Linked DNA regions of Homo sapiens: regions 1, 3 and 4 are each linked to region 2. Evidence: promoter capture Hi-C in 16 types of primary human blood cells and fetal thymus (Javierre and others, 2016). All regions are on one chromosome and are shown on one strand. Each heading gives the region's core, a stretch centred on a gene start or on the middle of the fragment in contact. The rest is flanking DNA. Distances are from core to core; before and after follow the strand shown.

Region 1 (6,322 bases), core at 3,164-5,663, 790 kb after region 2:
TTGTACCTGAATGTCCACAGCAGCATTATTTATAATAACCCAAAACTGGAAACAACCCGTGTCCAGCAACTGATGAACAGATGAACTACATGTGGTCTCTCCATGCAGTGGAATAGCATTTGACCATAACAAGGAATGAAACACAGATCTATGCTGCGTGGCAGTATCTTGAAAACACTACACTCAGTGAGAGAAGTCAATCACAAAAGGCCACATACTGTATGACTCCATTTATGTGAAATGTCCGGAACAGACATATTCATAGACAGAAAGTAGATGAGTGGCTTCCAAGGGCTGGGGGAAGGGAGAATGAGGTGAGACTACTAATAAGTACAGAGTTTCTTTTGGGGGAGACAAAATGTTCCAAAATTAGATTGTGAGGATGATTGCACAACTTTTTCAATACACCAAAACCCATTGAATTGTATACTTTAAAAGAATGAATTTTATGATGCGTGAATTAGATCTCAATAAAGATGATTTTAAAATGTTTTCTGAGGGGCTGGGTGCAGTGGCTCATGCCTGTAATCCCAGCACTTTGGGAGGGTGAGCTGGGTGGATCACCTGAGGCCAGAAGTTCAAGACCAGCCTGGCCAACATGGTGAAACCCTGTCTCTACTAAAAATACAAAAATTAGCCAGGTGTGGTGGTGCACGTCTGGATTCCCAGCTACTCGGGAGGCTCAGGTACGAGTATTGCTTGAACCCCGGAGATGGAGGTTACAGTGAGACGAGATCACGCCACTGCACTCCAGCCTGGGGGACAGAGCAACACTCCATCTCAATAAATAAATAAATAAATGTTTTCTGAGGATCCCTGGTTTTCAGAGTGTTCAGGGAGTTGGTGGGGGTGGGGGACGTGTCATGAAAATATAAGTTTAGTGAATGCAGGCTAAGCAAGTCCAGCAACAGTTTTGATACAGGTCTTCTCAGAGACTTTAATTTGTGGATATAACTAGTGATACTCCCAAAAGGAGTATGTACTAATACCAGATAATGCTTATTGAGTATTCGCAGTGTTCTAGTCATCTATTAGCTTATTTATATGTATATTAACTAATTTACTCCTCACATTAGCCCTCTGAGATGGACCCTATTATTCCACTTTAGAAATGGAAAAACTGGGGCACAGAGAGGTTGAGAATCCTGCCCAAGATCACACAGCTAACAAGAGGCAAAGCCAAGATCTGAACTTAAATAGCCTTGCTCTGGGATTCACGCTAGACTGCTTATCTTGGTACAGTGTACAACATTTCCAAAACAGGTTTGACCATAGCTTACTTGAATAGGAACAATCTCAAAGGATCTGCCTTCTCTCCATCCTTGAGGTCTGCCTCCTGGATCTAGAAGCATCTCTCACTGAGACAAGTGCAACATCTTCCCCATCTCCTTACCTCCACTCTCCCTCCCCACACTGCACTCTCCTTTTTTAACACACACGACATCCTTCCCTTGCTTCAGACCCTCTGATGGCCTCCCACCACTCTTAGACCAGCGTTTCTCAACCTCAGCACTATCAATATCTGGGACTGATGAGTTCTCTGTGGTAGGGGCTGTCCTGTGCTTTGCAGGACATAGGCAGCATCCCTGGCCCCTTCCCACTAGATGCCAGGAGCAACTGCCCCCAAATGGGTGGCAACCAAAAATGTCTCCCAACATTGCCAAATGTCCTTTGAGGGGCAAAATCGCCCCCACTGGAATCACTGCCTTAGAACAGAGTCCTGTTTCCTCACTGTGGCCGATAGACGTCCCCGCTCATCTCTCCATCAACGTTGGCCTGCTCTCTGCCCTTTAAGTTCTCCCAGTGAATCTCTCCGCAGGGCCTTTGCATAGCTCCTCGCTCCCTCTGCCTGGAGCTCGTCCCCTCAGATCTTCTTCATAGCTAAGGCTTTAGCTCCAAGGCCCTCACCTGAGACAGGTTTCTTCTGCCCTCCTCTCTCCCACCTTCATTGCACTTTCCTGCCCAGTCACCCACTTTCCTACCACACAGATTGTTTTTCCCTCTAACACACTGTGATTGAACTTAAATTGTGTATTTTTTTTCCTTCTTTGTTTTTCTTTAGACATGGGGTCTCCTTCTGTCACCCAAGCTGGAATGCAGTGACTTGATCATAGCTCACTGCAGCCTCAACCTCCCGGGCTCCAGTGATCCTCCTGCCTCAGCCTCCCAAGTAGCTAGGACTACTGGCATGAGCCACAATGTCCAGCTAATTTTTTAAAAAAATGTTTTGCAGAGATGGGGTCTCAATGTGTTGCCCAGCCTGGTCTCAAACTCCTGGGCTCAAGTGATCTTCCTGCCTCAGCCTCCCAAAACGATGGGATTACAGGCATGAGCCACTGTTCCTGGACTTTTTTTTTTTTTAATCTGCCTTCCCCAGCAATGTGTGTGCAGGAACTTGGTGATGCCAAGCTTGGTTGAATCTCCAGTACTAAGAAGGGCCCTGGGAACCATGAAGGTGCTTAAACCATTTGTTGGATGAATCATAAGCCTGCCAATGTGTAAATTGGGCAGCCCTTCTGGTGTGTGCCTAGGAGTGGAAGAGACAGAGATGTGGAAAGGAAAACACCTTTTGGGGTTTCATCGCCTTGGGTTTGAACACTGGACATGCCTTCTGGTCCTTTGCAAAAGTGCCTCTTTCTCCCAAAACCAGTTGCCAAGAAGTCTTAAAAAATGGAAAACAAACAATAAAAAAGAAAACGAAGAAGCGAAGGGAGAGAAGGAAAATTACTTCAGTTTTAAAAGTCTCCTTAAATCAGAGCAAGTCTCTGTTTAATGTTGACTGATTTTCAAATAAAGCAGAGATGAGGTTTTGGAGCTAGCTGGAAAACACTTGTGATGGGGTGTCTCTAGGTCAGGGCCTCAGGATTCCAACCAAGGGGGAGGGTGGAGGAGAGCAATTAGCAGCTCAGCGAGGGTGTGAGGAGGAAAGAAATAAAGAGCAGAGAGGATGAGTCAGGCTGGGCTGTGGCACAAAGCCACCCTGCGTGCTAACAAGCAGAAAGCGAACCAGGTCGGGGAACCTCCCCTGCAAATCCCCAGGGCGACTCAGTGCAGCAGAGGGAAGCTGCTTTTTCTAAAGCCCTCCTCAGCTTTCTCCATCTGGGTCTGTAGTCTGTGAAGGGATTTTGCAGGCTGCAGAGATTTTGCTCAGCATGACTTATCCTCCCGGGCTTGGCTGCTACTTCAGTGAATGAGAGGCTGAGATTGAGGCTAGCTCTGAAGTTCTCAACCTGGAAGCCCCAGCCAGAGGAGTTCTGGAAGGTTACAATGGAGGTTCTAAATATTTTAAACCTAGGCCGGGCACGGTGGCTCATGCCTGTAATCCTAGCACTTTGGGAGGCCAAGGTGGGCGGATCACCTGAGGTCAGGAGTTCAAGACCAGCCTGGCCAACATGGCGAAACCCCATCTCTACTAAAAATACAAAAATTAGCTGGGCATGGTGGTGGGTACCTGTAATCTCAGCTACTCAGGAAGCTGAGGCAGGAGAATCACTTGAGCCCGGGAGGCGGAGGTTGCAGTGAGCTGGAGATCACACCACTGCACTCCAGCCTGGGCGACAGAGCAGGACTCTGCCTAAAAATAAAAAATAAATATTTCAAACCACCTACGAAATATTTTTATGAAAAAAAAATCAAACCAGAAACAGTTAAGCCTCCAAATTCAACTCTCAATTTATAAGAAATACCTGAAACAGAAAAACATAGTAAATTATATCACAGGGATGCAATCCCCAAACTCCTAATTGCACAAAACTCTCTGGGACTAATGACTCAGTTTCTTCAACAAGTAAATTGCAAGGAAAGAAAACTGGAGAAGAACCTATAGAATTTAGGAGACTTAAGAGTCATATCAACCAACAGCCATGTGTGGATGGACCTTATTCGCATCTTGATGAAAACAAACTAAACAAACATAACAAATGCCGCATGGTCTCGCTTATATGTGAAATCTAAAAAAGCCAAACTCATAGAAGTGGGAGTAGCATGGTAAGCAACAGAGTGGGGGCTAGGGGACTGGGGAGATAGGGGTCAAAAGATATAAAATTCCAGTTAGACAGGCTGAATAAGGTCAAGAGATCTACTGTACAACATGGTGCCTAGGTAGTTCATGACAAGCTATTGTATTCTTGAAAATCGCTGAGAGTACATTTTAGGACTACCTGTGTGTGTTCTCACCACAAAAAAATGATAAGTATGTGAGCTAAGGTGTATGTTCATTAGCATGATTTAGCTAATCAAGCTAAATATGGATACAGATTTCAAAACAACATGTTGTATAGGATAGATATACACAATTTTTATTTGTCAATTAAAATAGATAACTTTTTTAAATGAGAAGAAAACAATTGCTGAAACAATTGGGGCAATTTCAACAGATAGAATACTTGGTGATATAAAGAATGATTGTTAACATACCTTTTAGTATGATAATGGAATTATAATGTGTTTAAGAGTCCTTTTTTTTTTTAGAAACATGCTGAAACACTTATTAATAAAATAATATGATTCTTGGGATTGGTTTCAAAATAATCTGGTGTGAGGGTAGGTAAGGGGGTGGATGTGGGTGACAAAATGTTGGCCATGAGTTGACAGTCATGGAAGCTGGTGTTGGGTCCACGGTAGTGCATGACAGCACTCTCTAAAAATAAGTGAACATCCTGCTTTTGTTAATAAGATGACCCATAGGCTTGCAAATATTTTGGTGATCTTCTTAACATTAGATTTCATTTTATTCACACCAGGATATGATCTGCTTTACATCACACATCCTGGTACATGATCACTAGCTACAACAACAAGCAAATTAATTCATCAATACTAAGTTGCCTTGACTTTGAGGCAATATCGTATAGCGGCTTAGATCAAAGAAACCCTTCCTGTCAGCACCTTATCACTTGCATCTCTATGAAACCCAGCAATTTTTATACTTCTTGGTACTCAACTTTCTCTGCTGTAAAATGGGAGGGGGTAAATGAGATTTTATGCATGAAGCACTGGGCCCAGTGTCTGACCGTCAGCGAACCTTAGTTCCTATTATTACCAGAAGCAGCAATACCAGTCTGCAGAGTGAAGTCTTACTCTGGACACGTTGCTAATTTGGGCATGAATAGAAAAATGCCTGGGATAAAATACAAGGAATAGGTAACAGAGGTAACCCCATGAGGAGTCACTCATTCAATCATTCCATGTGCCACGTGGAGCTGTGGGCACATGGTAACCAGGAGTCAAGACACAGGGGTGTAGCCCAGGAAGATGTTCAGAGGGCGATCTGAAGGCTGCAGGAGAGTTAGCCAGGTTGGATTTGGGAGGGGAAGGGAGGGGAGTAGGGAAAGAAAAAGGACAAGGGGTCCCAAGCTGTTAAGGGAAAGGCAAGTGCAAAGGCCTTAGAGCAGGAAGGAACAATTCCAAGATGCAAAGGTTGCAGCGAGAAGAGCAGACCAGACCAGAAGCAGTGGCTCACACCTGTAATTCGAACACATTGGGAGACTGAGGCAGGAGGATTGCTTGAGCCCAGGAGGTCAAGGCTGCAGTGAGCTTTGATGGCGCCACTGCACTCTAGCTTGGGTGACAGAGGGAGATCCTATCTCAAAAAAAAAAAAAAGAAAGAAAAAAAAAAAGGAGGACCCAAGAAGGTGGAGCCAGTGCAGCTGCAGTGATGGGGAGCGGGGAGGTCTCTTTCTCTTTCGCTCACATCTCACACACTTCTGAATTATGTCAATATCTTATGAGAAGCATGTAGCAGTCTCACAATTTTCGAAAGCTAAAAAATGCAAAGGAAAAATGGCTATAAACCCTCAAGAAGTAAAGAAAATATTATGGCCTTTTCTCTACTTCTTGTCTAACAAGAAGCTACCATATATTTTTCTTTTTTCTTTTTTTTTTTTTGAGACAGGTTCTGCTCTGTGGCCCAGGCTGGAGAGCAGTGGCGTGAATCTCAGCTCACTCTAACCTCCGCCTCCAGGACTCAAGTGATCCTTCCACCTCAGGCCACCACACCTGGCTAATTTTTGTATTTTTTGTAGAGACATGGTTTCACCATGTTGCCCAGGCTGGTCTCAAACTCCTAAGTTCAAGTGATCTGCTCACCTCGGCCTCCCAAAGTGCCGGGATTACAGGCCTGAGCCACCGCGCCCTGCCATGAATCTACAAAATGTTAAAATTCACTTACATTTGCTAGATAAGCCACCTTGTTTAAATGTAAGAAGTATGCTATCCTCTCCTGTCTGGTTTGTTGAAAGGGCCTCCCCATCCTTGCCTCCCTTCTTTCCCTTTTTTGGATGTGTTAGAGGTGGAACAGATCTTTGCACCTAATTTAAACAAT
Region 2 (6,160 bases), core at 2,411-4,910:
TGGGAGGCCGAGACAGGTGAATCATCTGAGGTCAGGAATTTGAGACCAGCCTGGCCAACATGGTGAAACCTCATCTCTACTAAAAGTACAAAAATTAGTTGGGTGTGTTGGCGTGTGCCTGTAATCCCAGCTACTCAGGAGGCTGAGGCAGGAGAATCTCTTGAACCCAGGAGGTGGAGGTTGCAGTGAGCCGAGATCACGCCATTGCACTCCAGCCTGGGCAACAGAGACTCCATCTCAAAAAAAGAATAAATAAATAAACAAATAATAAATACAAATACGAAAATTAGGCAGGCGTGATGGCATGCACCTGTAGTCCCAGCTACTCAGGAGGCTGAGGAGTGAGAATCACTTGAACCTGGGAGGCAGAGCTTGCAGTGAGCTGACATAGTGCCCCTGCACTCCAGCCTGGGCGACACAGCAAGACTCTGTCTCAAAACAACAACGACAACAAAAATCCACTCAACCACCCACCCACCCACACACCCATCCATCCAACCATCCACCCATCCATCCATCCATTCATCCATCCACCCACCCACTAACCCATCCATCCATCTACCCACCCACCCATCCACCCTCCCACCCACTCATCCATCCATTCAACAACATACTGAGTATCTACTGTATGCCATTTTGGCAAGGAGCAGGAATGGAGGACAAAGTCATAGGCAGGAAAAGGATTCTGGAAAAGTGGTCCAGGCAGATGTCAGGACAAAGGGAAGAGTTTGCTCAAGTTTGTCATGTGGAGGAGCAGAGAGGACGCTGGCAGGGCAGGTGGGAATGGAGGAAGTTGGGTTTGCTGGGTTGATAAGGGCCAGATCAGACATCATTTTACAGAAGGATTCATTGAACAACTATGGTATGTACCACATGTGTTCTGTTCTTTTTCCCCTAGACTGCTCAGGAGAATTTATTCATTTTTTTTTAGAGACAGAGTCTTGCTCTGTTGCCCAGGTTATAGTGCAATGGCATCATCTGAGCTCATTGCAGCCGCAACTCCTGGGCTCAAGCGATTCTCCTGCCTCAGCCTCCCAAGTAGCTAAGATTACAGGCATGCACCACCACACTCAGCTAATTTTTTTTTTTTTTTTTGTATTTTTAGTGGCGACAGTGTTTCACCATGTTGGTCAGGCTGGTCTCGAACTCCTGACCTCAGATGATCTGCTCACATTGGCTTCCCAAAGTGCTGGGATTACAGGCATGAGCCACTGCCCCTGGCCATAGCTTGTAGAACTTCTTTGTCACTCCACAGAGCTCAGTACAATTTAAGGCACAGCGAGGGTGCCCAGCTGACTCTTGATTATTTCCTATGCAGCATAAAGTTCTGCTCCTCGGGAGTAAATCTGCGAATCAGAGCCTTCCTCAGGAAGATAGCTCTACAGATGACCCAGGGGAACAAGTACAAGCCGTGCATTCCAGCACCCAGGATTTCTTGTTTCATGTCATTTTAAAGAACTCATGGTTTCAGGTATACTGTGGAGTCCTAGGTTCATTCCCAGCCTTGGCCTCAGTTGTCAAGCTAGCTGTTCCTTCTCACTTGGGGGATTCAGCCCCTTCCCATTTTACCCACCAACTCCTAATCATCTCCCCTGCTCTACTCAACCATCTTTTTCTGGACACTCTTCCTGCATAACCTAGTATAGAGCAGTCCCCTTGTGCTCGTCTCTAAAGCTTCCTGTTCTTATCACAATTGTTTTTTCTTCTTTCTTTGTTTTTTTTTTTTTTTTGAGATGGAGTTTCGCTCTTGTTGCCCAGGCTGGAGTGCAATGGCACAATCTCAGCTCACCGCAACCTCTGCCTCCCAGGTTCAAGCAATTCTCCTGCCTCAGCCTCCCGAGTAGCTGGGATTACAGGCATGCACCACCATGCCCAGCTAATTTTTTTGTATTTTTAGTAGAGATGGGGTTTCTCCATGTTGGCTTGGCTGGTCTCAAACTCTCGACCTTAGGTGATCCACCCACCTCACCCTCCCAAGGTGCTGGGATTACAGGCATGAGCCACCGTGCCCGGCCTCTTACCACAATTTTAATCGAACTATACTCTTTTTTCTTTTCTGAAACACAGTCTCACTCTGTCACCCAGGCTGGAGTAGAGTGTCTTGATCTCAGCTCACTGCAACCTCTGCCTCCAAGGTTCAAATGATTCTCCTGCCTCAGCCTCCCAAGTAGCTGAGATTGCAGGCGTGCATTGCCACACCTGGCTAATTTTTGTATTTTTAGTAGAGATGGGGTCTCGCTATGTTAGCCAGATTGGTCTGGAACTCCTCCTGACCTCAGGTGATCTGCCCACCCTGGCCTCCCAAAGTGCTGGGATTACAGGTGTGAGCCCCTGCCCCTGTGCCTGGCCCAATGTATACTCTTTTTTTCTTTTCTTTTCTTTTCTTTTCTTTTTTTTTTTTTTTTTTGAGACTGAGCCCTGCTCTGTTGCCCAGACTGGAGTGCAGTGGCGCCATCTAAGCTCACTGTAACCTCTACTTCCTGGGTTCAAGTGATTCTCCCGTCTCAGCCTCCCAAGTAGCTGGGATTACAGGCACATGCCACCATGCCTGGCTAATTTGTGTATTTTTAGTAGAGATAGGGTTTCACCATGTTGGCCAGGCTGGTCTCAAACTTCTGACCTTGGGTGATCTGCCTACCTTGGCCTCCCAAAGTGCTGGGATTACAAGTGTGAGCCACCAGGCCTGGCTCCAAAGTATACTCTTAACCCAAGGCAGGCACACACTGCTGCTGTCAATGATGGTATGTGGTAATAGGGAGTGGTGGGGACTGTGGAGGGAATATGGCCACAGGATGGATGATTTCACTTGGCTCTAGCAGAAGACTGGTTCTATGACAGTGTGGGCCCAGTGCTTCCAGAACTCTTCATATTTTCTTTTCTTTCTTTTTCTTTTTCTTTTTTTTTTTTTTTTTTTTTTGAGACAGAGTCTTGCTCTGTTGCCAGGCTGGAGTGCAGTGGCGTGATCTCGGCTCATCACAACCTCTGCCTCCTGGGTTCAAGTGATTCTCCTGTCTCAGCCTCCCAAGTAGCTGAGACTACAGGCGTGTGCCACCACATCCAGCTAATTTTTGTATTTTTAGTAAAGACGGGGTTTCACCACGTTGGACAGGATGGTCTCGATCTCTTGACCTCGTAATCTGCCCGCCTCAGCCTCCCAAAGTGCTGGGATTACAGGCGTGAGCTGCCGCGCCCGGCCACGCTCTCATATTTTCAAAGGAAGCCGGAAACCTGGACTTTTAAAGTGAAATACCCACCCCCCACAACATTTAAGTACTGACTAATAATTTTTAGAAACAACATAGGCCAAACAAAACACATAGGTGGCTCCGAGTTTGTAGGTAGCCTGTGGTTTAATATCTTTCTCTCCCATTTAACTCAGCTCCACGGGGCACATGGCATCTCCCTCTGCTCATCATAGTGTTTGGATCAAACAAATGAAAAACAGAAACATGACGGCCTCTACCAGCAAAAGCTCGAGGGTTGGAAAGAGTCCCCTGGCAGGGAATTGGCACCCCGTCGTGCCTATCCTCTCTCTCTGACTGCCTGCTGGAAATGCCCCCATCTCCCTTTGAGTCCTCCTCCCGGGCGACTCCTGTGACCTGTAACCTCTGTCCTGAAATCATCACAATGGCCAGGGTGGCCTCAGCTCAGGGCCTCTGTGACATCACCAAGGGCCTGGCACCAGGTGCCCAGTCTTCCAGTTGCGAGGGCAAGCAAACCCGTCATGAGCAACTCCCTTCCCCATCTCTGCTCACCATGTGGACGCTGAAATCGTCCCTGGTCCTGCTTCTGTGCCTCACCTGCAGCTATGCCTTTATGTTCTCTTCTCTGAGACAGAAAACTAGCGAACCCCAGGGGAAGGTGCCGTGTGGAGAGCACTTTCGGATTCGGCAGAACCTACCAGAGCACACCCAAGGCTGGCTTGGGAGCAAATGGCTCTGGCTTTTGTTTGCTGTTGTGCCGTTTGTGATACTGCAGTGTCAAAGAGACAGTGAGAAGAATAAGGTAAGGATGGCTCCATTTTTTTTACACCATATTGATTCAATCTCAGGAGTCTCAGGGAAACGGATGTTCTAGTGAGTCTAGGCGGCACCGTTGGGTATAATGAACCGACCTCATGGTCCTGGGCAAAGCTGGCAAATTCACTTCCTGATGTATCCTTAGTGAAGACAATAGTCCCCACATCCACAGATATTGGGACAAACAGTGGAAGATGACCTCTAGTTTCTTGGCTCAAAGTTCTTCTGGTTAGATGGATTTTTTCAAATGTAGGATAGATTCAAGAACTCAGCCGGGCGCAGTGGTTCATGCTGTAATCCCATCACTTTGGGAGGCCAGGGCAGGTGGATTGCCTGAGGTCGGGAGTTTGAGAACAGCCTGGCCAACACGGTGAAACCCCATCTCTACTAAAAATACAAAAATTAGCTGGGCATGGCGGCGTGTGTCTGTAATCCCAGCTACTCGGGAGGCTGAGGCAGAAGAATGGCTTGAACCCTGGAGGCAGAGGTTGTGGTGAGCTGAGATCACACTACTGCACTCCTGCATGGGCGACTGAGACTCTGTCTCAAAATAAAGAACTTATGGTGTGTTTTAGAAGGTCAAAATTATATTATTCACAGGGCCAAATTCACTGTTCCCTTGCTTTTTACATTTTTCCTAGTGCTTGACTTACTGAAAATTCCTGAGCTAAATGGAAATGATATCATCCCAACAAAATATGAAACTTCTGTAAGGAGATAAAGGTGTAGGCCGGGCACAGTGGCTCATGCCTGTAATCCCAGAACTTTGGGAGGCCGAGACGGGCAGATCACTTGAGGTCAGGAGATTGAGACCAGCCTGGCCAACATGGTGAAACCTCGTCTTTACTAAAAATACAGAAATTAGGCCAGGCGCGGTGGCTCACCCCTGTAATCCTAGCACTTTGGGAGGCTGAGGCGGGTGAATCACGAGGTCAGGAGTTCGAGACCAGCTGGGCAACATGGTGAAACCCTGTCTCTACTAAAAATACAAAACCTAGCTGGGCGTAGTGGCGGGCGCCTGTAATCCCAGCTACTCGGGAGGCTGAGGCAGGAGAATCACTTGAACCCTGGAGGCAGAGGTGGTAGTGAGCCGAGATGGAGCCACTGCACTCCAGCCCAGGTGACAGAGTGAGACTCTGTCTCAAAAAAAAAAAAAAAAAAAAAAAAAGCTGGGCCCAGTGGCTCATGCCTGTAATCCCAGCACTTTGGGAGGCCGAGGCGGACGGATCATCTGAGGTCAGGAAGTTGAGACCAGCCTGACCAACATGGAGAAAGCCCGTCTCTACTAAAAATACAAAATTAGGCGTAGTGGCGCATGCCTGTAATCCCAGCTACTCGGGAGGCTGAGGCAGGAGAATCGCTTGAACCCGGGAGGTGGAGGTTGCAGTGAGCCGAAACTGCGCCATTGCCCTCCAGCCTGGGCAACAAGAGCAAAACTCTGTCTCAAAAAAAAAAAAAAATACAGAAATTAGCCAGGTGTGGTGGCACACCCCTGTAATCCCAGCTACTCGGGAGACTGAGGCAGGAGAATCACTTGAACCTGGGAGGCAGAGGTTGCAGTGAGCTGAGATCGTGCCACTGCACGCCAGCCTGGGCGACAAAGTGAGACTCTGTCTCAAAAAAAAAAAAAATTAGCTGGTATGGTGGTGGGCACCTGTGGTCCCAGCTACTTGGGAGGCTGAGGCATAAGAGTTGCTTGAACCCCGGCCGGGGGTGGTGGCTCATGCCTGTAATCCCAGCAATTTGGGAAGCCGAGGCGGGTGGATCACCTGAGGTCAGGAGTTCGAGACCAGCCTGGCCAACATGATAAAACCCTGTCTCTACAAAAATACAAAAATTAGCCGGGCATGATGGCGGGTGCCTGTAATCCCAGCTACTCGGGAGGCTGAGGCAGGAGAATAGCTGGAACCTGGGAGGCAGAGGTTGCAGTGAACCGAGATCATGCCACTGCACTCCAGCCTGGGTGACAGGGCAAGATTCCGTCTCACAAAAAAAAAGAATTGCTTGAACCCAGGAAGTGGAGGTTGCGGTGAGCCAAGATCACACCAGCCTGGGTGACAGAGTGAAACTGTGTCTCAAAAAAACAAACAAAAAAAAGAGATGAAGGTGTAAAGTAGTAACAGCTGGGCCTCAAAGTGACC
Region 3 (5,900 bases), core at 32-2,531, 520 kb after region 2:
GGGAAGGAGGCCCTCCATTGATTGGGACATGCTCATCTTGACCATCCGTTGACCACCCCCAGCCTCAGGAATGCAGATCCCTGTGAACTGTCCGGAGACCACACCCCAGTGCTCCAACGAGTCTTGGATGTGCGGGTGGAGGGCGAACCCCCTCTTAAAGCTGGGGCCTACGGAGCAGTTGCTGAGATGAAATTCAGGCCTGGCCCCATTTAAATCCAGCCCCCACCTCCCCCTCCTTCCCAATTCGGCCTCCTCATCCTGCCCAACCTGCTTCACACCCCGACTCAGCCAGCAAACAGAGGTCTCCCTTTCCTTCCTCCAAAAGGGAAGGGGCTCCCCCAGGGCCTCCGCTGGAGTGGTTCTGGGTCTCCAAAGTCGGAAGTGCAATCGTGACCAACTCTCAGCTGCACCCTCTGCTGCCTGCAGCGGGTGTTTCACTTGCTCAGCAGGAATCCTGCCCCTGGTGACACCTCCACCCCAGGAGGCCAGCAAGCCCCTCAGGGAGCAAAACCAGTTGCTCTGGGAGACCTGGGCCTTCCCCACCGCCTCCCCCTGTCCACAGAGAGGGGCGGACATGCGGCACCAAAAACCGTGTTTCTGACTCTGGCATCAAAGGTCATCCCTTGTTTCTTCCTCAAGCGACGTTCAGTGAGCCCTGGCTAGGGGCCAGGTACTGTGCTGGGACAGGCACCGGTGCCACAGCAGCAAGGAAAACAGACAAAAATCCCTGCCCTTCTGGATATTACATCCCGGCAGAGAGACAGAGACAGCGTTCCAGTTACTTAATAAGTAAATAAAAATACAGTGTGTCTGGTGACAAGTTTGTTGGAAACAAAGCCTGATAAAGTCACGGGGGCCCGGTGCTATTCTAAAGAGGGAGTCCAGGCAGGCCTCAATGAGAAGGGGACATTTGAGTCACGACATTAAAAAGGCAACGCCTGAGCCAGGCAGGTATCTGGGGAAGGGCTCATCCGGGAGAAGGAACAGCCAGTGCAAAGCTGCTGAGGGCTTAAGAAACAGCAAGACCGCCAGCGTGGCCACAGCGAAGTGCCGGAGGGAGGGGAGGAGGGGAAGTCAGAGGCTCTCGTCACCTGCGGTTCTCAGGGGACATCTGGCGACATCTGGAGACATTTTTCCATTGTCATAATTTGGGGAGTACTACTTGCCATCGAGTGGGTGGGGGCCAGGGATACTGCTAAACACCCTGCAATGCCCAGGGCAGCCCCTGCTCAGAGAACGGCCCAGCCCAATGTCAAAAGTGCAGTAGTTGAGAAATTCTGCTCTAGGGCTTGGCTCTGCTCCGCTTATAAGTCACTGCGATGACCTTGCTGTCACCCTGAGAGGGGAGGAATCCATTGCAGGGGCTGGAGCATTAAGATCACACTTTGGTTGCAGCAGCACCCCCTGGCTGCCAAGTTGAGAATGGGCAGCCCAGAGGCCAGGAGGGCAGCAGGGAGCCCAGGGAGGAGGCCGATGGAACGCCCAGGTGAGAGGGTGGTGGCCCAGGAGAGGTGATAAAGGATCAGAGTCCCCACCTGTGATTTCATCTTCACCCAGTAATTCCAACCTGGGGCGCCAGCCTAAAGAAATAGGCACATACTGAAAAAAAAAAAAAAGGTTCACAAAGGAGGCTAGTATTATGATTGAAAGACAAAATTGGGAGTAACATCTCCATTCATTCAACAATAGGGGCCCAGACAGGCACAGCTGGGGTGGGAACTCTGAAAAGGTAGCCTGCTCTCCAAGGTGCCTCCTTGCCTGGAGAGGGGCTCCATCACTGTGTGTCACCTGGGCCATCAGGGAGATCATGGCCAGCACCTCCATGGGCTCCCACACACCCCCTCTGGAGGAGCTTGGGGGATGAACCTGTGGCTGGAACCCGTGGCTGGAAGGATGTGTGGAAAATGAAGACAGAGCTGGTTGAAGGATTTTCTTCTTTGTTTTGATATTTATTCAAGTAATAAAATCCAGGCAATGAGTACTCAGACAAAAGAGAACAGCCACACTCACCAGGCCCACCAGAGGCATGAGGGAGGCAGGAAGAGCCTGGAGGTCTGGAGAGGGGCAGGCCCACCTCTGGGGCGCGACAGGGGCTGGCCTGAGCCTGAAACCAGTGGGGTGGGGGTTTGGGATGGGGTCAGCACACAGCATCGCACCCTCTGAAGACCTGTCCCTGAGATTCCAGGGCCGCTCCTCCGCTTCGCTTCCCACTCATCATCCATGCCTCCCCCCACCCCCCACTCTCACCACCTTCTAGACCAAGTAGTGTAATTAAAGTCAGCAATTTTGTTGGGCTCAACCTGAACATGTGGGTACACGGGCTCCCGATTTGGCCTGCCTCCGAGCGGCGGGAGGTGTTTCCAATAAACTTGGGCGTTTTTAATGAGTCCTTTACAACTGCTAAATAATTAAGCCAAAGATTGACAAGAGCAACTGGTAGCCCCAAATCTTGGCAGCAAATAAGAGGAGCAGGGTCCCACCCTGCCATCCCCTCCAGCGGGCCTGTAAATTACGCCGCAAAGCACAAGTACAGCTGTCAGAGCACGGCAGCTTGAGCAGCTTAGGAAACTAACAAGCACCTATAGGTCTCACAGTTACCTGGGAGGCCTTATTTTATTTTTTCCAGGTTTGATGGGGATCTGCATTGAGGATGGCGTCTATGCCACTCGTACGGCGGAGACCCAGAGTTCCGCAGATGTGTGTGGTCAAGCCTGCCCAGCAGCGTGGCCAGAGACAGAGCAGATAAAATATAAGATGTCCAGGTCAATTTGAACTGCAGATAAACAATGAGTAACTCTTCTTCTCAGCACAAGCAAGTCAGGGCATACTTACAGTAAAAAAAGTTATTCATTGTTTATCTAAACACCCAATTTAACTGGCTATTCTGTATTTGATCTGGTGATTCCTTTCCACATGGAAGGCCTGTTTGAAAAAATATTTACCTGGAGAGAAATCCAAAACATGGTCACTGCTTTCTCACTGGGCCCTTCCACGGCGTATATCTTTGGTGGGTGCTGACACAGTGAGCTTGCAGCAGGCAATATCCACAGCAGCTGAGATGGGGCTTCATGGCCCGGGTCGGAGCCCTGACTCAGCCACTTGCTTACCTGTGTGATCTTGGGCAGCTTTTTAACCTCTGGGAGCCTCGGTTTCTCCCTGTGCAAAACAGGCATGATAATAGGAATACAGTGGTCCCCCATTGGCAGTTTCGTTTTCCTAGGTTTCTGCTACCTGCAGTCAACTGCGGTCCAAAAATATTCTGAAACTAGAAAATTCCAGAAAGAAACAATTTGTACGTTTTAAATCGTATACTGTTCCGAGTAGTGTGATGAAATCCTGAGCCATCCTGCTCTGTCCCACCGGGATGTGAGTACTCCCTTGGTCCAGGGTGTCCACATTGGCCACACTATCTGCCCTTTACTGTACAGGAAAAAACGTACATAGGGTTTGGTACTATCTGTGACTTTAGGCATCCACTGGGGGGTCTTGGAAAGCATCCCCCACAGATAAGGGAGGAAGACTGCCTTTCATAACATTGTTTTGATGGTGTCCGAACATACTTCATATTAAGCACTTAGTACAAAGCCTGGCACTTAGTAAGCCCTTGAACACATGTTAGCTGGAGTCATTTTGTGTTTTAAACTTCATTCCTACGGAATCCATATCCCAAACTTCTGATGGCCTTTCCATTAAAAGGACAAGATCAGAATGCCTGTGTTGGAACAAAACATGGCCCCTTATCCAGGCATGGTGGTACACACCTGCAGTCCCAGTTACTCAAGAGGCTGAGGTGGGAGGATAGCTTGAGCCTAGGAGTTAGAGGCTGCTGTGAGCAGTGATCACTGGTACTCCAGCCTGCATGACAGAGCAAGATTTTATCTCTTAAAATAAATAAAATGAAAAAAGAAAACATGGCCCCAAGGCTAATGTTTTGGGCTGGACCCCAAAAAACTAGGACCTTCTGCTTTCAAAGTCAGTCTGGTTGCCTTCGAGTGTTTATGGGGTCCAACCAGGACAAAACCATGACACACTTTGCACAGTTCCCCAGTAGCAACACAGGGACTGTGCTGGGGCCACCTGGTTAGAGGCACTGTTCCTGAATTTGAGAACCAGTTGAAAGGTAATCCTGACTGACTCCCCAGTCCCACATCTAACTGCTGGGCTCACTGCTATGGAGATCATACCAGGACATGGTGACTGATTGTGTTGGAAACTATTTGAGTCACTTGCCTTTCCAATTCCTGCACAGCTCTGAGCACCGGGCCAGGTTCAAAGTACAATCATGCATTGCCTAACGATGCAGATGCATTCTGAAAACAGAATCCTTAGGTGATTTTGTCGCTCTGTGAACTCTGTAGCATGTACTCACATGAACTTAAATGGTATATAGAAGGTATAGCTTACCACACACCTAGGCTACCTGGTACGGCCTACTGCTCCCAGGACACAAACCTGTACAGAATGTTACTATACTGAACACTGTAGACAACTGTAACACAATGGTGAGTACTTGTGTACTGAAACATAACTAAACATAGAAAATGGAATGCATTGCACTATGACATCATGGCAGCTACACTGTCACTAGGCAATAGGAAATTTTCAGCTCCATTATAATCTTATGGGACTCCATCTTATACAGTATATGCAGCCCATCATATATGTAATCTGTCATTGACTGAAACATCTTTATGTGACACATGATTGCAGAATCAGGAATCTGCTCTCCAGGAGCTGAAACTGTGGAAGAAGAGATGAGCTATGAGGGCAAATAAGGCTAAATCAGGCCAGGGAAGGAGCTACTCTTCACCGAACAACTATTATTTGTTGAGTGTCATTTGCATATGGCATGCCATTTAATGCAATTTGGAGGACAGCCCTGAGAGGCTGTGTACAGAGGGAACTCCCAAGACTCAATAGGACGAAGAAGGTGCCCCCAGTGTCAACTGGAAGGCAGGGGACTGAAACTCAAACCTGGACTTGAGGCAGCTTGAGGGATTGAGGCAATATTTAGGTTTAGAAATGGAGAGGTCAAGATGAAGGGCAGTGAATTCTCCCCTAGAAGCTTAAAAAGAAATTCCGATAATCTACAGAGAAGAAGCTAGTGCTGATCTATCCAATATGGCTGCCATGAGCCACGTAGGGCTATTTAAACTAATAAAAATTAAATGAAATTTAAAATTTAGCTCCTCCGTCACACTACCCACTTTCAAGAACTCAGAGACCACATGTGGCCACTGGCTGCCATTTGCATAGAGCAGGTATGGAGGCCTCTTCACTTCCATCATCACAGAAACTTCTATTGTTGCGCACTGGTGTAGGGACTAGGGAAAAGTTTCTTTTCTGTGTCTAAATATTCCAAGAAAAATTAGAAATGAAATTTTCAATTTTCAAATGAAAAATTCAATCTTAATATTTGGGTTGCTTAAGCCTGAGGATAAAACCTAAGTTCTGGGCTCCTGTGAGAAAGACTACACAGCCCTAAGAAAAAATTCAAGGGAAAAAGAGCACCAGAACCCCAAAACTCCCATGGTAAATGTAGAACCTTAAGAAAACAATCTAGCACTCTTAAGAAAGAGTACACTTCCACTGCAGGCTTTCTTCTTTTAACCTCTTAGTGGATTGTCTGATGAAATAATCATGTTCAGATATATATATATATCGTGTTCAGATATATATATATATAGTGTTCATATATATATATAGTGTTCAGATATATATATATCGTGTTCAGAGATATATATATATAGTGTTCAGATATATATATATATATAGTGTTCAGATATATATATATGTATTGTGTTCAGATATATATATATATAAAATCCCAGGATCAGCTTGATTCTGGGCACTGATTTCTATACGAATTTTTGGATGCCCAAGTCCACACAGCAAAGTTA
Region 4 (5,708 bases), core at 859-3,358, 810 kb after region 2:
ATTCTTGCCTCTATAGAGACAGATTTCTGTCCTATCTTCTAAAGCAAATTATAAAAGAATATGTTATTTTGACCTTTAAATTATTTTTGAAAAAATAATATTTTATACATGTCATCAAAGTCTACAAAATATTTACCTTCTACGATACAACTAATGTTAACGCATAAAGTATCTTACTGGTAACAAAAATCATAATGATCTGAATTTGAGATGTTGCAAATGAATTGTGGTGTCCGGTAGTTTCTTCTTACATTTTCCTTTGCCTTTATACTTTAGGGGTCTTACTCCATTAATTCATTTGTTACATTAGTAAAATTCAGTATGAATAAATATTTGGATTGATGTAGTCTTCAGTGTTTTGCTTTATTTTGTATTGAGCCTATTTTTTATTGATAATATTATTTATTTGAAAAGTTTCTCGAAGGTCTTGAATGCTTCTCTAGTCTGTCTATAGAACAAAAAACTTCTTCAGTTTTAAGATCTACAGAAGCCTCAGATTTTAATAAGGTACTTCTCCAACAGTAAATATGTGACCTTTTCCCTCCATAAACCTATCTTAATTTTGCCAGAGGTCAGTTTTATGATTTTATTCTGTACTTTCAGTAAACCTTTAACTGCACTGAAAGTTTCTTGTGCTTGCAAGCAAGAATAAGAATTTATAGAAGCACGGTAATATTAGGTTAGCTATTTTATAAAGAGAAATGGTAACAATAATAATAATATATACCATTTCTGAGAACTTACATGTGCCAATCACTGCTGATTCAGTATCTCATTTAATTCCCCCAAGGACCTTGTAATTACTGGGTAACTACACCATAGTTTTCAGGTGAGAACACTGAGGATGCTATTTGTCCAAAGCCACAATAATACCAGGGGACAATAATACTACCTACCTCAAGAAAATGTGGGTCTCAATGCAAAATGTAAATGTGGGATCCCTTTTTATTAAGAATTTCAAGATGATAGCAGCAGAGAATTAAACCAAGCACAGGCCCTTCTTAGCCTGGGGTCCTGGGTGACTGCACGGGTGGTACACCTGTGAGGCTGGGCCTGCCCAAGAGGTTGTATGTAGTAAGGATTGAAGAAGGTAATATAATAATAAAGGAAAATACATACATAGCACTTACTATGTGCTAGGTATTTTTGTAGGTGCTTTGTAAACAATAACTCATTGCATCTTCACAGAAACCTTATGAGCTAGGTACTTTTAAAAAATCACCCCCATTTTACAGGTGAGAAAACAAAGGTACAGAAAGGTTAAATAATTTTCCCAAGGTCACATAACTAATAAGCAGTGGAGCTGGGACTTCAAACCAGAAAGTGTGGGTACCATGGCGCTAGTACAGGTAAAGTACTTCACGTGTGGTCTGTGTCCTCACTGCATGGAAAGGTCTGCAAGTCTTATTGTTGGCTAGTGTCAAATCAAGATCCCCCGATACCATACCTACAATTAACAAATATGTTATATTCCCTGGTCACATAGGAACCACACATTTCATTTTGGGAACATTCTGGTATGCTGTTAATTTTACTTACTCGTGAGACTATCAAAAATTCTAAAAACATTTTTATAAATAAGAAAAAATTTCCTCTGAATTTATACCATACTTACTCCTTTAACATGTAACAGTGTCACTTAACTTTGGTATGCTTTGTAAAGGAAGAAATTACTAACTTAAAAATATGTTTAACCCACGACACATCTGGCTTAGGATATACTATCAAAATGGGAAGGAGTGACAAATCTACGATAGTCATTCAAATTTAAAAATAAATTTGAAAAAGACAGATACCTCCAGTTTGGATAATTAAGTCATCTCAAGTTTATTATTGCAAATTTACTTAAAATAATTTTCAATTATTTGGGAAATGAAAATGGAAAGAGAGCAAAATACACTATAGTTTGACGTTACTACCTATCTTTATTAGATGAAAATGAAAAATTAATGCTAGTAGCTATTTGGGAACCATCTAGAATTCTAATTCTAAAGATTTCTTTCTAAAAAGGATTACCATAATACTTAGCATTTAAAATGGTAACTGATAACAATAATCTCATCTACCATCATCTAACTGTATCTAATTTGGATATTTCCATAATTTTAATCAAGAAAACATTAGATTGGAATCTTTAAAATTAAAATGTATAAAAACTAATACAACAAGGCTGGGCACGGTGGCTCACACCTGTAATCCCAGAGCTTTGGGAGACTGAGGAGGAGGATTGCTTGAACCCAGGAGTTCAAGACCAGCCTGAGCAAAATAATGGGACTCCCATCTCAATTTTTAAAAATTAGTTGGTTATGGTGGCACATGTCCATAGGCTCATCTACTAGGGAGGTTGAGGTGGAAGGATCACTTGAAACCAGGAGTTCAATGCTGCAGTGAGCTATGATTGCACCACTGCACTCAGGCCTGGGTGACAGAGTGAGACCTTGTTTCAAACAACAATAACAACAAAAACTAGTACAACAAAAAGGTGCTCAGAGACTCTTAGTTTTCCCTTAAGGGTTCATAATTACCCTAACAAACTAAAAGTTGCTTGTAGTATCCCCCGTTTTCTGAGAAATTTGATTATAATAATTGGTGATACTAAGTGATTTCAGAAGTTATGAGTTCATAGGGAAGAAAAACCATAGTGCACTTTATAAAAATAAGGAAAACCCTCCAGGGTTTCCATCTATGACTTCCTTACTGAGTGTCTCAGTTGAGCTGCTAGTTTGATGTAGATAATCTGTTCAGTGGTGCTGAAAAGAACATATTCTCTAAGCTATATATACATGTACATTAAAAGATTTTCAATGAAATGTTTTTGTAGTGAAATATTGAGAAACGTGCACTTCTGTTTGCTAAATGAACTTCTCTGTTCACTGTTACACAGATAGGTATCCCAAGGAAACAATCCTGTAGAAACAAGCCAAGGTCGCCCTCTGCTGGCAAACGCTCATTATTCTCTCAACTCCTTCCACTATTTTGGGTGGAAATTTCTTTGAAATGTTTTCAAGTCATTGTCTAAAGGAATGGGGTAGAGTCTTGAGTCACAACAAAAGAGTTTGGGGAAAACCAAGAGGGTTTCTATGTGATACACTCAACAGGAATCCGCTTTGTTAATCAGCTTTGGATGCCCCAATTCCCTGTAAAGCTACACTTAATGTGTGCTTCTTTGCAACCTAGCTATTCACAAAACTTTAAGCCAACATATTACATCTCTTTTATTAAAAATTCAAAATGAAAAGTAACTCATGCTAAGAATATAGGCATGTTCAGTTTCTATTCATCTAGCAATTAATAGAAACTGTACTTATTCATAAATATTCCCTGTGTAAAAATGGCAGAAAAGTTTACCAGTTTGAATGACAGTCACTACCAAAATTTAATTATTTTTCTATTGTTTAATTATTTTTCACCTATATTGTATGGCTCAATAATCATACAATCATACCCAGGGATAAAATCTTACTGATCTCGCAGAGCACGGTAGCTCACGCCTGTAATCCCAGCACTTTGGGAGGCCAAGGTGGGCGGATCACAAGGTCAGGAGTTCAAGACCAGCCTGACCAACATAGTGAAACCCCGTCTCTACGAAAGATACAAAAATTAGCCAGGCATGGTGGTGTGCACCCGTAATCCCAGTTACTGGAGAGGCTGAGGCAGGATAATCGCTTGAGCCCTAGAGGCAGAGGTTACACCGAGCCGAGGTCGCGCCACTGCACTCACTCCAGCCTGGGCGACAGGGCGAGAGTCCATCTCAAAAAAAAATAAAATAAAATACCGTTCTCCCTTTTTGTTTCTAGGAGGCAAAACATAAATCAGCATAATCTGCCACCTGTGGAAGTGTAGAGTTAGGTTTTGGGGCAGGCTGCTTGCATTCCAATTCTACGTCTACTCCTTGCCTCTATGGCTGGGACAAGTTACAACCTGATCTCAGTTTCATCAACCATAAAATGGGCATAACAACAATAATAATGACTTGGTAGGGTCATGGTGAGGATTAAATGAGATTATCCATTTAACAAGAGTCTTGGAATATCAGCTATAATATTTGGGCGAGCATACTGCTCCTCAGTGGTTCCACTGATGGTATATGCAAAAGCAGTTTGTCAACTACATAATCCTAAACAGCGGGAAGAGTTTATAGAGCATGCTGAATAACCAGGATTATAGAGGAATCTGTATCATAATAGAGGCTTCTGGAAGATACATTGGGCGTTGAAACATAAAATGCAACAAGTATTAATAACGAACACATGTAAGATACTCTGCTTGGTGCTGCAAAGCATATACATGGAAGTAGATACAAGTTTTAAATCTAGGAATCTAGACAAGACAAATACACTATTTAATGAGGCAGAATATGCCTCGAAACCCTGAGAGAGCTTTGGGAGGGCTTTTGAGAGTTTAAAGGAAAGATAGTAAGAGGAGTTCCATTGAAAAAGGATAAGAAAATGTAGTTGAAGCACTTCTCAGAGATGAGTCCAAAGCTTTGCTGGTAGGAGGGTCAGGCACAGGACAGACATCATGGACCTACTCTGTATCAGTTGTGTGAGCTCTGGTAAGTCACATTGAGAGATGACAGCGTGCTGGCAGTCCTCACAGCCCTCGCTCGCTCTCGGGGCATCCTCTGCCTGGGCTCCCACTTTGGCGGCACTTGAGGAGCCCTTCAGCCCACCGCTGCACTGTGGGACCCCGTTTCTGGGCTGGCCAAGGCCGAAGCCCGCTCCCTCAGCTTGCAGGGAGGGGTGGAGGGAGAGGCGCGAGCGGGAACCGGGGCTGCGCGCGGCGCTTGCGGGCCAGCTGGAGTTCCGGGTGGGCGTGGGCTTGGCGGGCCCCGCACTCGGAGCAGCCGGCCGGCCCTGCTGGCCCCTGGCAATGAGGGGCTTGGCACCCGGGCCAGCGGCTGCGAAGGGTGTACTGGGTCCCCCAGCAGTGCCAGCCCACCAGCGCTGCGCTCTATTTCTCACCGGGCCTTAGCTGCCTTCCCGCAGGGCAGGGCTCGGGACCTGCAGCCTGCCATGCCTGAGCCTCCCACCCCCTCCATGGGCTCCTGTGCTGCCCGAGCCTCCCCGACGCGAGTGCCACCCCCGCTCCACGGCGCCCAGTCCCACGGACCACCCAAGGGCTGAGGAGCGCGAGCGCACGGCCTGGGACTGGTGGGCAGCTCCACCTGCAGCCCCGGTGCGGGATCCACTGGGTGAAGCCAGCTGGGCTCCTGAGTCTGGTGGGGAGGTGGAGAACCTTTATGTCTAGCTCAGGGATTGTAAATACACCAATCGACACTCTGTATCTAGCTACTCTGATGCGGCCTTGGAGAATCTTTATGTCTAGCTCAGGGATTGTAAATACACCAATCAGCACTCTGTATCTAGCTCAAGGTTTGTAAACACACCAATCAGCACCCTGTGTCTAGCTCAGGGTTTGTAAATGCACCAATGGACACTCTGTATCTGGCTACTCTGGTGGGGCCTTGGAGAACCTTTGTGTCTAGCTGAGGGATTGTAAAGGCACCAATCAGCGACCTGTCAAAACAGACCACTGGGCTCTACCAATCAGCAGGATGTGGGTGGGGCCAGATAAGAGAATAAAAGCAGGCTGCCGGAGCTAGTAGTGGCAATCTGCTCGGGGCACCTTCCACGGTGTGGGAGGTTTGTTCTTTCGCTTTTTGGGACCACGTCGTCTTTATGAGCTGTAACACTCACCGCAAAGGT

What was found. The method cuts DNA at HindIII sites, captures the fragments that hold promoters and counts their contacts. A CHiCAGO score of 5 or more calls a contact.
Region 1: a fragment that was not itself captured here is called in contact with the fragment with the promoter of FAM209B in region 2 in 1 of 17 cell types (erythroblasts); the score reaches 5.5 in erythroblasts.
Region 3: a contact is called between a fragment that was not itself captured here and the fragment with the promoter of FAM209B in region 2, in 1 of 17 cell types (M0 macrophages). The highest score is 6.1, in M0 macrophages.
Region 4: a fragment that was not itself captured here is called in contact with the fragment with the promoter of FAM209B in region 2 in 1 of 17 cell types (endothelial precursors); the score reaches 5.7 in endothelial precursors.

What each region holds. Positions count from the first base shown.
Region 1 is chr20:57,320,209-57,326,530 of GRCh38, forward strand. All of the region lies in intron 2 of LOC105372687 (a long non-coding RNA gene), which reads right to left. MIR4325 (microRNA 4325) reads right to left here and starts at 1,383; the gene lies at 1,294-1,383. RefSeq lists an enhancer at 6,127-6,322. The HindIII fragment of the contact is 4,013 bases long and covers 2,408-6,322 here.
Region 2 is chr20:56,529,586-56,535,745 of GRCh38, forward strand. FAM209B (family with sequence similarity 209 member B) reads left to right here and starts at 3,661. Exons shown (of 2, transcript NM_001013646.4): 1 at 3,661-4,005. The coding sequence starts at 3,757. It also overlaps a transcript of FAM209A not described here. The HindIII fragment of the contact is 5,101 bases long and covers 1,673-6,160 here.
Region 3 is chr20:57,047,049-57,052,948 of GRCh38, forward strand. No RefSeq gene overlaps it. Among named protein-coding and RNA genes, the nearest start is that of BMP7-AS1, 160 kb to the right of the region's middle. The HindIII fragment of the contact is 7,563 bases long and covers 1-5,063 here.
Region 4 is chr20:57,343,648-57,349,355 of GRCh38, forward strand. SPO11 (SPO11 initiator of meiotic double strand breaks) reads left to right here. Exons shown (of 13, transcript NM_012444.3): 13 at 1-346. Among named protein-coding and RNA genes, the nearest start is that of RAE1, 4.8 kb to the right of the region's middle. The HindIII fragment of the contact is 4,748 bases long and covers 1-4,482 here.